Regions from separate parts of the Homo sapiens genome. Here region 1 is linked to region 2. Evidence: promoter capture Hi-C in human tissues and cell types (Jung and others, 2019). All regions are on one chromosome and are shown on one strand. Each heading gives the region's core, a stretch centred on a gene start or on the middle of the fragment in contact. The rest is flanking DNA. Distances are from core to core; before and after follow the strand shown. Region 1 overlaps INTS6 (integrator complex subunit 6). Region 2 holds the start of SERPINE3 (serpin family E member 3).

Region 1 (7,401 bases), core at 4,373-6,872, 49 kb before region 2:
CAGTACAGACACGGCATTTTTGGTTTCATGGAGCATTTCAGTTCTCACCTGAGAATTGTATTAAAATAATTTTAATATCAAATTCTGTATTTGATATTAAAATGTGCAAGTCTAGCATTCCACTATTTTACTTATGATAAGGGCCTGTGACATAATCTGCAGACACAGTTGGTGCGCTAATGAGATTCGTCATAGCCAGCTACATAAGAGAAAATGTAAGTTCTAATTAATATTTTAGGTGCATTTTTTCTAAAATTCTATGGATTTTGGAAATCTGCAAAATTCACAGACAAAAAGGGATTAACCTTACACAGGTGTGTGAAATAGATAGAAAGCTGTTATTCATGTCATTAAATGCTTTCATTTTATAGAAATGCTTTTTGTGAACTTTCGTAATGCCTTCACAATTTAATTAACAAAGGGTAAAAAAGGCATATATGTAATTTTTTTTAGGGATAACCTGTCATCTACATTTGAAAATTAATGAACAATTCTCGTTACATAGATAATATTTTTCAGTGACAGTCGTATTTTTTTCTGTGGGAGGGTGCACATTTATATTCATGAAATTTTAGTTTCCAGCTTTGAACTGGCACCCTTGTTAAAAATTCTGATTTTTTTTTTTTTTTAAACTCTGGGGATTTTACTTAACAGGTTCTGAAAGGCTTGGAGGCTATAACATTCTCACATTGGAAATTCCTTACTAGGAATTACTTAGTTTGAACTTAGAATGATGATGAACTTTTGGGACTTAAATATACTATAACTTTTGTCACTAGGATCAGGAATATTCAGAGTGTGAAGTCAAGTGAGTGGTGTAATCAAAGAGTCTGAAAAGAACCATGAGACATCATGTAGCAGTCTTGCCTTTAGGCAGTAATGTATTAAAGCTACTTTGCTTATTCTTTGAAAGGAACATCTCTAGAGAAGTTCCAAAGTCATCCTTGGTGATATCTTTCAATGATGCAGAAATCTTAGTCAAGAAATTAGGAAGTCTTCCCTAAATATACATTCTGAATCCTTCCTGATGTGATAGTTTATTTGCCCCTTTTCATGCTCTTACTAGCAATAAGAGTAAGCCGCTCAAATGTCACTCATCTTTTCATATCTCTGAATAATGTGTTTCCTTTCTTTTTTAATTTAAAGGATGTTCACTAAACAAAGTTTTGGGGAACACCAGAAAAGTAGAAAGAACAAAAAAGATAATACCCACTGGTATTGCACTATCCAAATATGTAATCACTGCTAACAATTCCTGTGCATTTTTAAAACTTAAGGTTGGCCGGGCGCGGTGGCTCATGCCTGTAATCCCAGCACTTTCGAAGGCCAAGGTGGGCGGATTACCTGAGGTCAGGAGTTTGAGACCAGCCTGGCCAACATGGTGAAACCCCGTCTCTACTAAAAATACAAAAATTAGCTGGGCGTGATGGCACACGCCTGTAATCCCAGCTGTTCGGGAGGCTGAGGCAGGAGAATTGCTTGAGCGCAGGAGGTGGAAGTTGCAGTGAGCTGAGATCGTACCACTGCACTCCAGCCTGGCTGACAGAGAGAGACTCTGTCTCACAAAAAAAAAAAAAAAAAAATTTAGTTGTTTATGTGTGTATTTGTGTACATTTATTTTTCCCATTATGGAGTAATTCATGTTCACTAAGGAAATGTTGGAAAAAATTCATCTGTATTGCCAAAATAATAATATATTTCTTTCTATGTATTTTTTTAATTGCATAATTGTAGTCATTGTAAGCATTTTTCTTTTGATATCAGGTAATTAATGAGTGCCCACTCTATGCCAAATAACTGTTACTGGGTGTTGGGAGTACAGCAGGAACAATAGAAAGCTTATGTCTTTGTACTGAGTGACAGATAATAATCATGGAAAATAAATAAATGATATTTTATAGTAGTACTACCTACTACTATTGTAGTAGATAGTAGGGTGCTACCTACTATGAAGACAAAACAGAGTAAGGGAGTGGAGACTAACTTAAGGCAGAGAAAGCATATTCTACCTAAGTTTTCGTCTGAGGAGGTAACATTTAAGCAGAGACCTGAATAATGGAGTTAATTACACAAATATCTAGGCAGAGGAAATGGCAAGGAAAGGGACATGCTCTCTATATATTTGGAAGCAACAGGAAGGCTAGCATGGCTGGAGCTTACATAGGGAGGAATAGAGTAATAGCTAGGTTTAGAGAGGTAGGCAGGGGCCAAATATTGAATGGCTCTTTAGGCTACAATAAATATTTTTTGAGGAAATGGCAAGGAAAGGGACATGCTCTCTATATGTTTGGAAGCAACAGGAAGGCTGGCATGGCTGGAGCTTACATAGCGGGGAATAGAGTAATAGCTAGGTTTAGAGGGTAGGCAGAGGCCAAATATTGAATGGCTCTTTAGGCTACAATAAATATATTTTTATATTCCAAGTATGATGTGAAGCCTTTTGAAGGCTTTTTACGGGAGGTGACGTCTGATTTCTATTTCTGAAATACCACTTCACCTGTTAGATGAGAATATAGAGTGGCAAGAATGAAAGCAGGAAGACTAGTAGTAGTACTTTGTTCTATGCTAGCTTTGGAGGTCCTGAGAGGTGGCTTAATGCAAAAGAGAACCAAGGATGAGGACAATAAGGGAAGAAGCAATCCAGGATGGTTCCCAGATGATTCAGTTGGTCCGAACCACTAGAGATGGATGGCTGTGCCAAGGACTGAGATGGTACACTGGGGAGAAGCAGGTTTAGGGGAGGTGCAAGGATGATAGCAAATTTTAAAATGTGTAATAGACATGTTGTTAAATATATCAAGAATTTTTTAAGTATTTTATAAAAATTATAGATATTTCTAGATTAAATACATTTAACTTTCTTAGCCTCTGTAAGGACTATTGACCAACTTAGAAATGTTCATTTGCTTCTTCTCTATTTGACAAAGATGCTAATACTGCCTTTAGACTCACTATATTTAGTTTGACTTTTTTGTGGACTCTACATAACCCAAAGTGAGACAGCTTCTTGACTTGAAGGTGTGTGCTAATAAAACTTTTTTCACAAATACAAGTAGTGATCCTAGAAACTTTATGCATTAGCACAAAGTGTTGTATATCCCAAGGAGTAAGTTTTGACATAGACAATAAGTACACATGAGGAACATTACGGAGGATATAGGCTCACTTTGTAAAGAAAGCAAAATTTGCTATTTCTGTTTAACTTTTAAAATAATTAATAGATTTTTATTACCAAATGACTCATTTTATTCTTTTTCTCCAATTTTTGTAAAATATACTGATTAGTAATTTTATTTCGTGTTAAGATTGATTTGCTTATGTTTTCTTAATTGATGACACAACTTAGGAGAGCAAGATAATTGTCATAGTTTATATACTTTAAAATTTTTGCTTTTTAATGACATCTTAGGAATATGCTTAAATTTCATGAAATAAGATACTCAACCTTTATGTAAACTTCTAATATTTTGCATGTAAAGATGGTTAGCCTTTTTATGGATTGCTTTTTGTATATACTTAAATTGACTTAGAAAAAAATTTGAATTTACCAATTCTTTCAAGTAAGCATGACTTCATATAGATGCTGTATTTTAAGTACTGATTTCAAATTCACAGAGGATTTCCAAGGGACAAAGGATATCCAGAATAGTTTCTGATACACTGTAAGGGTTTGAATTGTAACTCTATCACTATACTAACTTGGAAAAGTTAGTTAGCCTCTCTGTGCCTTAGTGTTCTCATTTGTAAAATGGGGAAAATAACCCATACAATTGTTGCTGAGATTAAAGAAATTAATAATCATAAAATGATTGGAACAGTGCCAGGCACGTAGATACTCAGTAATTGGTAGATATTTGTTAAGGTTATAATCATCATTATTTTATACAGTTAAGTTGTTGTATTTATTTTTTCTAAGTAAAGCTGACTTTGAGGATTTGAATCACCATTGTCTATAATGTTCTCTTTTCTGAGTAGCCTTTAACAAATCACGTTAAGTGTAAGTTGATATAAGTAATTTGATGTGTCAAATGTAATGATGTAGCTTGTGTTGTGAAATAATTGGTTGAATGTGTAAAAGAGTAGGGCATCATATTGAGCTTATTACAAATAATGTTGCAAAATATTTGGCCAAAGATTGAGTTTTAGCTGTCAAGGTTTTTAGTGTTGGTCTGGATCAGAACTGTATAATAGAAATCTGATTCAAATTTCATATGTAATAAAAAATTTCATAGTAGCCACTTTAAAAATTAAAAATAGATGAAATTAATTTTAATAATATATTTTATTTAAATCAATATATCCTTATTACTTCAGTGTGAGATTGATATTTTAAAATTACTAATGAGATGTTTTATATTTTTTCATACTAAGTCAACAAAATCAGGTGTATATTTTACTTACTATACATTTCAATTCAGACTAGCTATATTTCAAGTTCTCAATAGCTACATGTGTCTAGTATATAAAGTATTGTATAGCAAAGGTCTAGATATTTTTGTTGAAAATTCCTCTTTAAAAGATCTTTTCACTGGTATCTTTTTAAAAAAATCACTAGTATTTAATGCTTCTGAACCAAAAGTAGTATAAGTTAAAACGTACAAAAGGGGAATTCACGTGAGACAGGTAATTCCCAAGTGTTTACATAAGCTAAGTGAAATTCAGAAAAGCACACGCTACCATCTGTATATTAAAATGCAAATATTTAAAATACTTAAAAACTGCCAGTAAACAAGTAGTTATTACATACCTACTATGTGCACAGTAAATCTTAGTGATAATACTTTTGTTAAGCAGGAATAAGATTTTGGGGAGACAGTTACTAGATGTGTGTGTGTATATGTGTTAAAGATAAATTGTATTGCATAACAGTTGGAGATAGTGTTTTTTATATATATGTTTTAAAAAACATAAAATATGTGACTTGTTTTCATGTGTTTTGTTCAGACCAAGAATTCTATGTTCCAAATACCTGTAATTAGAAGAAAAAATGTACATACTCTCACAAAATGGGATTGTTGGTTGGTTGGAAATAATGATTTTTGTGCATTCTTTCATAAGATAATGAAATTAGTCAACTTTTACCATTGAACTTTTGTTAATTAGTACTGTCAGAAACCCCACAGTTGTTTTTTTCTTGCTAATGATAGGAATTCTTGCAACTAACTAGTTTACTATATTCTTCTTCTTCTTCTTCTTCTTTTTTTTAATCTCAGGCCGTTCATATTCTGTGTGTTCTCCAAGAATGCTTAATCAGTGTCTGGAGTCCTTGGTGCAGAAAGTACAAAGTGGGGTGGTAATAAACTTTGAAAAAGCAGGACCAGATCCTTCCCCTGTAGAAGGTATTATTGCACTTTTCTTTTAGACATTCAAAACTTGCTTTATTGTTTATTCAACTAGAACTGAAAACTTACTGTGATTTGGCCTTAAGATAGGCAAGGCCAAATTATTAAGACAGAAAGGCTGTTGGTAAAGAGGGAAGATTAAATAGGAAAGTCAAGGTAAACTAATAGTAGTCTAGTAGCATCACCTTTTTGTATTAATGATTGTCTATTGCCTGACATTTTGATGAGTCAAAAGCCTTTTCAAAGATTTATCGATAAGCAACTTTATAATTTCTTTGTAGTATTATACAATTGCCTCTCAACATATATATGCTTCTCCTATGCCCTTTAATTCCCAAAGTGTTCAGTCCTAGATGTTTAACTCCTTAGCTACTTTTGTACCAGGGATCAAACTGATTGAAAGTAAATGGTTTATTGTGGGTCAAAAATGAGGAACCAGGCTTTGCCATTAAGCTTGATTCTTCTAACTCTAGCTGAGTCCCACCTGGCTTTTTCTTGGCTTCTGTAATCATGAACTATTTCCAATAGCCAGTGGATATAAGGAGTTATAGTAGAACCAATGGATGGTTTATAGTTGAGACCCTCTGCATTGTATGTTACCTATTTCAAGATTTAAGAGTCATTGCTGGGCACGGTGGCTCACACCTCTAATCCTAGCACTTTGGGAGGCCAAGGTGGGTGGATCACCTGAGGTTGGGAGTTTGAGACCAGCCTGACCAACACGGAGAAACTCCGTGTCTACTAAAAATACAAAATGAGCCAGGCGTGGTGGCGCATGCCTATGATCCCAGCTACTCGGGAGGCTGAGGCAGGAGAACTGCTTGAACCCGGGAGGTGGAGGTTGCGGTGAGTGGAGATCACACCATTGCACTCCAGCCTGGGCAACAAGAGTGAAACTCCATCTCAAAAAAAAAGAAAAACAAAAACAAAAACAAAAAAAAACAAAACACACACACACACAAAGATTTAGAGAATCATTTAATGATAATTGGCAGAGGTGGTCCACTAAAGTAGGTACCTGGGAGAAGAGAAAGATCATAGAGATGAAAGAATGGGGGCACTGAGAGGGTACTATAGGGAAGGAATGGGTGATAACAATAAGTTGTGTCATGTCTGCTTTAACGAAACCAAACTTAAAAAAATTTTAATTGTTACAGTGTATTTATTTTAAATTATTTTAATGCTTTGTTTAGAGTTTGTTACTAGTAAATGTTTACTGGATTGTTGAAGATAGTTGCTGTTTTGCTAAAATTATTTTAGATTAAAGGTAGGTGCTTTGGTCTAGATTTGCTTATTAAGTTCTTTTTTTAGGCTTCGGTTAAAATGATTTCTAAGAAATACTCAATTTGCAGTACTTATTTATTCTAGTATTTATTGTGTGCCTGGCACTGTTTTTGACATTTGGGATATGATGATAAAGGTGGCAAATTGGGTGCTTGCTCTTATCATCTGATGAAGAAAACATGCCATTCATCAAACAGATATTCACCGTAAAGTATGTTTTGTGTGTTCCAGTTGGGAAGGCAAAGGATGCTGCGGACCTCCTTTGAACTGGCGAACTCATAGTTGGAATTTGTACTTATTGTCTAATGAATTACAATCTAGTCTAAATATTCAGCAGACATAGTGTTCTGCCATTTAAGAAAAATAGGAAAACCTGGAAAAAGATATTAGGAATTTTTTATTAATTTAAGTAATAATTGATATAATTTAACTTTTTATGCTTATCCCCCCTTATGATATATGCTTTCTTTGTCTTAATTTCTTTGCTATAGATGGGCAGCCAGATATATCAAGGCCTTTTGGATCTCAGCCTTGGCATAGCTGTCACAAACTCATATATGTCAGACCAAATCCTAAAACTGGGGTTCCTATAGGTCATTGGCCTGTTCCAGAGTCTTTTTGGCCAGATCAAAATTCGCCAACACTAGTAAGTACCAGAGACTGTAACTATGTAATAGTAACCATTCAGCTGTCTTTCCTATTAGTTTCAAATTCTGTTGTCAAAGCTGTGATTAATTTATGGGGATTAGACAGATGTTCAAAGTGCTATGATACC
Region 2 (6,519 bases), core at 3,903-6,402:
TATTATAAATGAGAGCAGAGCTCAGTCGGGGGACAGTTGCATGGGAGAAAGCCTGTGGGGTCCTCCGAGGTGGGAGGCTCTGAAGAGCACAATTCTGTGTTCTTGTGTGCTCTTGTGGCTCGTGTGTGTGTGTGTGTGCCCATGTGTATATTTGTGTGGGAGAGGGTCAGAGCAGGAAGAGAGGCAGAAAGGGACTTAGTGTCCCCTTGTCATTCAAGGGTAGGATCTCCTAAGAGGACAGACTTCTGCTGTAATTGAAGGTGGCCTGAGCACCATGGCCTCTGACAAGTGATGGGTGAGACTCTGTCTCTGCAGCCCTCTGCCTTAGCCTTGTTGAAATGTACAGTTTTCTTTTACCTGCAGTCTCTCTGGAGGCCCCTTCGCTAGTCTGGATGGCGGTGCTATTGGGCTCACTGAGGTCGGCTGGTTCCAGGCTGCTGTTAGCCCACCAGGAGACGTGCTCCACAAAGCAGGGGGACAGTGGCGTTCCCACTTGCACAAAAAGGCTGCAGGCCAGCTCCATCTCGGTGCCTTGGCTGGAGGTGGGTAGTGTGGCATAAACAGCATGCAAGAAATCTTTCACCCTTTTGTCTGTGAAAAACAAGTTGGGATAAGTTGACAATGGTGAGTGTGAGTAAGGAGTTAGCACAACCTCCAGCACACATTGCATTGAGATGGAACGCCAGCAACTCCACTCTTGCTCATAAGGTTCATCTACCATACAAAGCCAGTTTGAAAAAGTCATAGCTAATGTGCTCAGAAATCAGCCTGGATCCACCAATTAAAAGTTGGGAAGAAACCATGCTAGATATGAAAGAAATCAAGCTGCAATGAAGTCAAATAGAAAAACACTACCAACATCCAGTAGATGAATAGAGGATATTCTTCCTTAATTTTCTGCTTTAGGAAGGTTGATGTGTGTTGGAGTAGAGATTCTAGGGCTGGGAAAACAGCAGGTCCAGGGTGCAGGGTGATGGGGTTTCAAACACATCAGGAGATTTATGTGCAATGTTACAGTGACAATGATGGGAGGTGGCCAGGATGTTGTGCTGTCAATATGTCTTGTACGGGGCTTTAAATCCATTCCCACAACTGCGTGTCATGAGCCTGAGTAACATTTGGATTCAGCCTTGTGTAGAACTATGCTTTCAATTTGAGAAATACAGAGGAAAAGTAAGAACTCCTCCCATCCCCCGTTTCCCTAAGACCCAGCAGACAGCTTGTGTTATTAATGTCAGTGAAAGGCTGCAAGAATGTCAAGGAAATAATAAGCATTTGAGGGAGTCGATAGCTTCCACCTTCGTGGATGGCAGCTGGACTTCTATTTATTTACTGTTTATACAGGAGATTGCTTCCTTCTTTCCATGATCAATAGTGGATTTTGTTTTCATGTTATTATTCACAAGCTGCAGCTTCTGTCCTCCCCCAGGCATCCCATAGCTGGAACGAGGGCTCTTGCCCACTGGTGAGTCCAGACACAGTGGCGTACCCCAAGCTTCTCATTCCTGACACATGCAAGCTGAGTGTTTCCAGAAGTGAAGCCCCCTTGCTTAGGCTGCTTCTACTCCCTTTTAGGCACAGCCCTGCAGTTATCTACAAACCCTCCCTGTAAGACAAAATGCTGGGTATCTTTTCCTCCACTACCTGGCTCCGGCTGGTTTTCACTGGGATGAAACTCTCACTCACTTGGGGTCTGTCCCCTCTGACACCCTTCATGTTGCAGAAGCCAAGCCAGGAGGCAGCAGCAGACCCCTGAGTTTCCTGGCTAATGTTCTCTGGAGGCACGGGAACCCAGAGTCCACCCTGGCCAGGGTCCCCAGCCAAACGAGGCTGCAGAGGACAATAGTAGGCAGACATCACTTGTCCACAATATGTTCACTACCGAAGCTGCTCCTGAGAATCCACAATTGCAAAAGACTGACTCAGAATCTTGATCTCATGAATCAGCCTAACTTAAGTGCTTGCATTTGAGTGTAGTAAGAAAAAAATGGATAAAAACATACTTATAATCAGATTTTACTCTATCGAGGAAGGTCACATGTATTTCTGAGATCACATTCCTAGGAATGTTGACTGTCTGCAGAGAAGAATTGAAACACTTCCCTTGTCCATAGTGTGGTGTGACCTGAGGAATGGTCACAGAACTCTCCTCTCCATCTTTCCACCCTCTCTGGGCCAGGGGACCCACATTCTTTTAGTCAGAAACATTAAAATAGTAGAGTAAGTTGGCTTGAAGTGAATTTTTGTGTGAAATCTTTTCTCTGCCCTAGCCTAGTTTGTCCATGCACATTTGCACACAGGAAGAACATTTTTAGACCTGCCAGAATATGCAATGACAGGGTAAAAAATGCCGGAGGTTGACTGTGTTCATAGACATTGTGCTAAACACTCAACACTCCTGATCACACTGAATGCTTTTGACAGTCCTGTGAATTGAGGGCTATTATTATCCCCATTTTATATATGAGCGAGCAGAGGCCCAGACAGATTAACAAAGGTGCTCAGTGTCACCCAGGTATAGGTGGTGGGGCTTTACTGCCCTGCTCACCCACAGGGTGAAGAATGGGTAGGCCGGGATGACCCTGCCTAGGACAGCTTCATTCCACTTTGAATGAACGTGAGGCCGCAGAGCTCATAGCCTCTTTTTTTTTTTTTTTTTTTTTTGTTCTGTCTTTGCTGAATTCCTAGATCCTAGTCTAGGAAGAAAAATGTTAATGTGTGTGAGTATCTGTTTTAGCTGGAGTTGGTAGATTGGTTCTGAGGCCAGGCATTGAGCTGAGGCACTGAGCGTAAGCAGAGGGGAAGCTGACCTGGCATTCGAAAGACTCATGCTGCTGCCGGCAAAGCCGCTCTAAAATACATAATCCATAGAAATAAGCTGGCAGATCTGGCACTGGCTAGAAGTCACAGATTTATAAAAGCAGGTTGGTCAAAAGCATGGGCTCTTAAACCAGGCAGCCTGGGCTTGAGTCCCAACTCTGTCACTTATTGGCTCTGTGAACTTGAGCAAGTTGCTTCAACTCTCCATGCCTATTTGCTCATCTCTGAAATTGGGATGATAATAAAATTATCATCCTCAACAGAGCTGTTGTGACAATTAATTCAATTAATGTTTGTAAGTGCCTCCAGCACTGCCTGGCACCTAGGAAGGCACTATGCTAGGGTGTGTCAAATGAAACTGAAACATTGCCATGAAACCTATTAGGTTAGAAGGGAACCTTAAAATTCAAGGGTCACCACCATCCCAAAGTCTGAATGCCTTCTGTCACAGACCTGTCCAGTGATCACTCTTCCCCATGTGCACACCATAGGGAGCTGAGCTCCCTATCTCCCAGGTAGCCTGAGCAGCAGGGTGAGCTGGAGAGAGTGAGTGTGAGTATGAGCAGCAGGGTAAGCTGGAGAGAGTGAGTGTGAGTGTGAGCAGGAGGGTGAGCTGGAGAGAGTGTGAGTGTGAACAGGAGGGTAAGTGAGTGTGCACGTGGGCAGGCCTCTTACCATGGACAGTGTACCCCAGGGCATCTGCCAGCTGCTGACCAGTGCTCCCTTCTGCTCCAAACTGCAGGATCTCCAGGGGGAGGGACACACCAGCAGGAGAGATGACAAAGTTCGTCTCATTTCTACACGCGGCCACACTCTGGTAGAGGTGAAGTGCAAACTCAGTCTTCAGCAATGTCATTCCTTCACGGAGGTGGCCATTTGCTCGGAGGCAGCAAGAGTGAAAGAGGAAGAGGGTGATCAGGAAAGGCGGCATGGAGGCTGGGAGGGTTCCTGCAATTCAGAGGGAAGAGATGCAGGGTAGGCTGGAAGCTGGTGATGAAAGAGGGCCATGTCCCACAGAGGACTGGGACCCCCAGCTCTGTTTTTAGGGGCTAGGGACGGCTGAGGGAGAGATGCATTGAGCTGTCTTGGTTACCTACCCTGAGGCCCAGCCGTCTGGGCTGCAGAGCTGCACCCTCTTGTTTCAGCATTAGAAATACTCACTGTGGTCCTTTGGCAGCCAAACTGTGGGTCTGAAGATCTGCTTCGGCCACTTACTGGATGTGTGACTTTAGCAAAGCCCTGGTCAGATCAGAAGCAAAGCATTATGTTGGGAAAAGAAATGTAAGAGGTAATCCTACTCATTGTTCTTGGTATATAGTCAGCTTATAGCTGTGCTGTGTCTATCAGGAATAATAATAAATAATTATCTACTATGTTAAAAAGGACTTTGTACATTTGCAGTTAATCATCCCAACAATCTCACTAGTATCTGTTATTATATTTCATCTATAAAGAGGATGATTGAACCTTTGAGGCCCAGTGACTCATTTGTATGGGGAAAGAAACAGTGCTGTGACTCAAATCCTGGTCTTCTATGAGTGGTATATAAAATTTTGAGAATACCTATGTGAATTAAAATATTGATACATGAACTAATTGTACCTCGAATATCAGAATTCTTGTGATGCAAATTAGTCTCTAAAAAAGAATATTTTCACAAAGATAGTTCCTACCCCAGAAATGTACTCTTCCAAGGAAGAGAGATCATTAACTAGAAAATAATGCAAGAAGAGAAAGGCAAAGTAAAAAAATGTTTTCAACGACCATGCCACACATCCAGCCAGCAGCAGTTTTTGTTAAGTTGTCTGACTGTGGTATCATACCAAACTGATGTAAGAAGAGGTCCAGAGTCACTTCCTGGACTCACCAGTGAGCAGCTCACCCTGCTACTCACGCTCACACTCACTCTCTCCAACTCACCCTCCTGTAGAAGTTTACAAGCAAGGCCACTGAGCACGATGGTGCCTATTTTAGGTAAAGGTCCAAGATAGAAAACATCTTCTCTTTTTTCCAACCCTTCCTCCCTACAGCCAAGTACAAATGCAGTGCTTGGATGACCTTGGTACATAGGGCTCTCTCTCTCTCTCTTTCTTTCTATGTGTGTGTGTGTGTGTCCCAGCCCAGGGTCATTTGCAAAACTCTTAAGCCCCAGGGTTCTCACAGCTCTTATAACCTCCCATCTCCCACAAGAACACTCTCAGCAATCAGACCTTGATGCCCCTGGGCTCCCCATGAACAAATCCCTGTCATGGCTCACCTCGAATGAGCCACGTACTCACAGACTTTTGTATCACTGTTGCACGTTTCCTTGCTCGACTCTGTTCTTGTGGGTCTCCAGCATTCATGTGCTCCCCTTTTAAAAAAGTGGAGCAGAATCTGCTTTGAATCACAAGACAGCACAGAGAGGAAGCTGGCGATTGCCGTCTCTGCCGGCGATGTCTCTACCACTCGGTCCAAATTCCTGGAGCCTGGAGGTCCTGCAGAGAGCCAGGAGAAGCAGCCCAGCCCAGGGCAGCAAAGCCCAGATCGGGAACAGAGCAGGGCCGTGGGGGGAGAGCCAGCCACACCCGTCAAGCCTTCTTAGGCTTGTGACCTGGTTGTACCAGCAAGGAACCCCTCATCCAGCCCTTTGTCACATTGAGGAATTCCACTGATAACTTTGCTTGTTGGGCTTTTGCTGGGTACCAGGTACCTAATGCTTCCCCCCTCCTCCTGTGAAGAAAACAATAAATCAGTCATTGGGCATGACTTAAAACTTTCAGCAAATGAAAAGAAATTCTGCAAAAGAGAAAACAACGCAAGATATGGCACGATCAGTTCGGAGCAGGGTGACTTGCCTCATTTATTATTTATCAAAGTGAATGCACTAATTTATATATGTAACTTGAGTTATTAATAATCTGGTTCTTCTCAGATACAACAGTTCGTAAGTCCAATGACTAATTTGAGAAAGAGACCATGTTGTCAACGAGTAGACACATATTTTTGAAAAATATGAGCAGGTTCTGTCAAAAGTCTGTCCTTGTGATCAATTCAGAATTACATACATTTTTATTAAGGACTTAGGCCTTGTATTAAGTTCAAAATAGATGGTAGCTTATATGTGGTTACAGATTAAAGAAGAACTGAATGCAATTCTTAATAATTATCTCTCAGGCATCTGTAAGTGTTAATATTTGAAAATCAATGGACTGTTTTCACTTGACAACTACCCCTGTAATCAGTGGGTAATTCACTTTAAAGAGTTTTATTGCTGACACCCAAACCTGGGATTGTTTACAGGTCTTAGGATAGTTACAGTTCTATAATTGCATCACATAAAATATCCCCAAATCTTTACTTTAGATTCAATGCAATTGTGAATGGACAGGGTATTCTCTAAGCCATAGTATGAAAGGAGAATAAACAGGTTTAACTTATTCTATAGCACCCAGAGAGGGCATATCATTCATCCATCTGTCCATCTGTCCATCCATCCATGCATCCATCAATCCATCTGTCCATTCATCTGTCCATCCATCCGTCTGTCCGTGCATCCATCCATCCATCCATCCATCCATCCATCCATCCATCCACCTATCCATCCATCCAACAAATATCTCTTGATCACCTGCTTGGTCACAAATCACTGTGCTGCTAGGTTCTGGGCATATGGCAGTGAACCAGTAACCTGGGCTCAGCTTCTATGGGACTTAGAGT

What was found. Contacts are between HindIII fragments. The study calls those that stand out against the background at their distance.
Region 1: a contact is called between a fragment that was not itself captured here and the fragment with the promoter of SERPINE3 in region 2, in 1 of the 25 tissues and cell types used here (aorta).

The regions. Positions count from the first base shown.
Region 1 is chr13:51,387,257-51,394,657 of GRCh38, reverse strand. It overlaps INTS6 (integrator complex subunit 6), which reads left to right. Exons shown (of 18, transcript NM_012141.3): 6 at 5,214-5,339; 7 at 7,118-7,272. Among named protein-coding and RNA genes, the nearest start is that of MIR5693, 42 kb to the right of the region's middle. The HindIII fragment of the contact is 3,610 bases long and covers 3,818-7,401 here.
Region 2 is chr13:51,338,324-51,344,842 of GRCh38, reverse strand. It overlaps SERPINE3 (serpin family E member 3), which reads right to left and starts at 5,152. Exons shown (of 10, transcript NM_001386375.1): 1 at 5,100-5,152; 2 at 3,982-4,059; 3 at 3,496-3,768; 4 at 358-591. The coding sequence starts at 3,751. It also overlaps a transcript of INTS6 not described here. The HindIII fragment of the contact is 9,065 bases long and covers 4,084-6,519 here.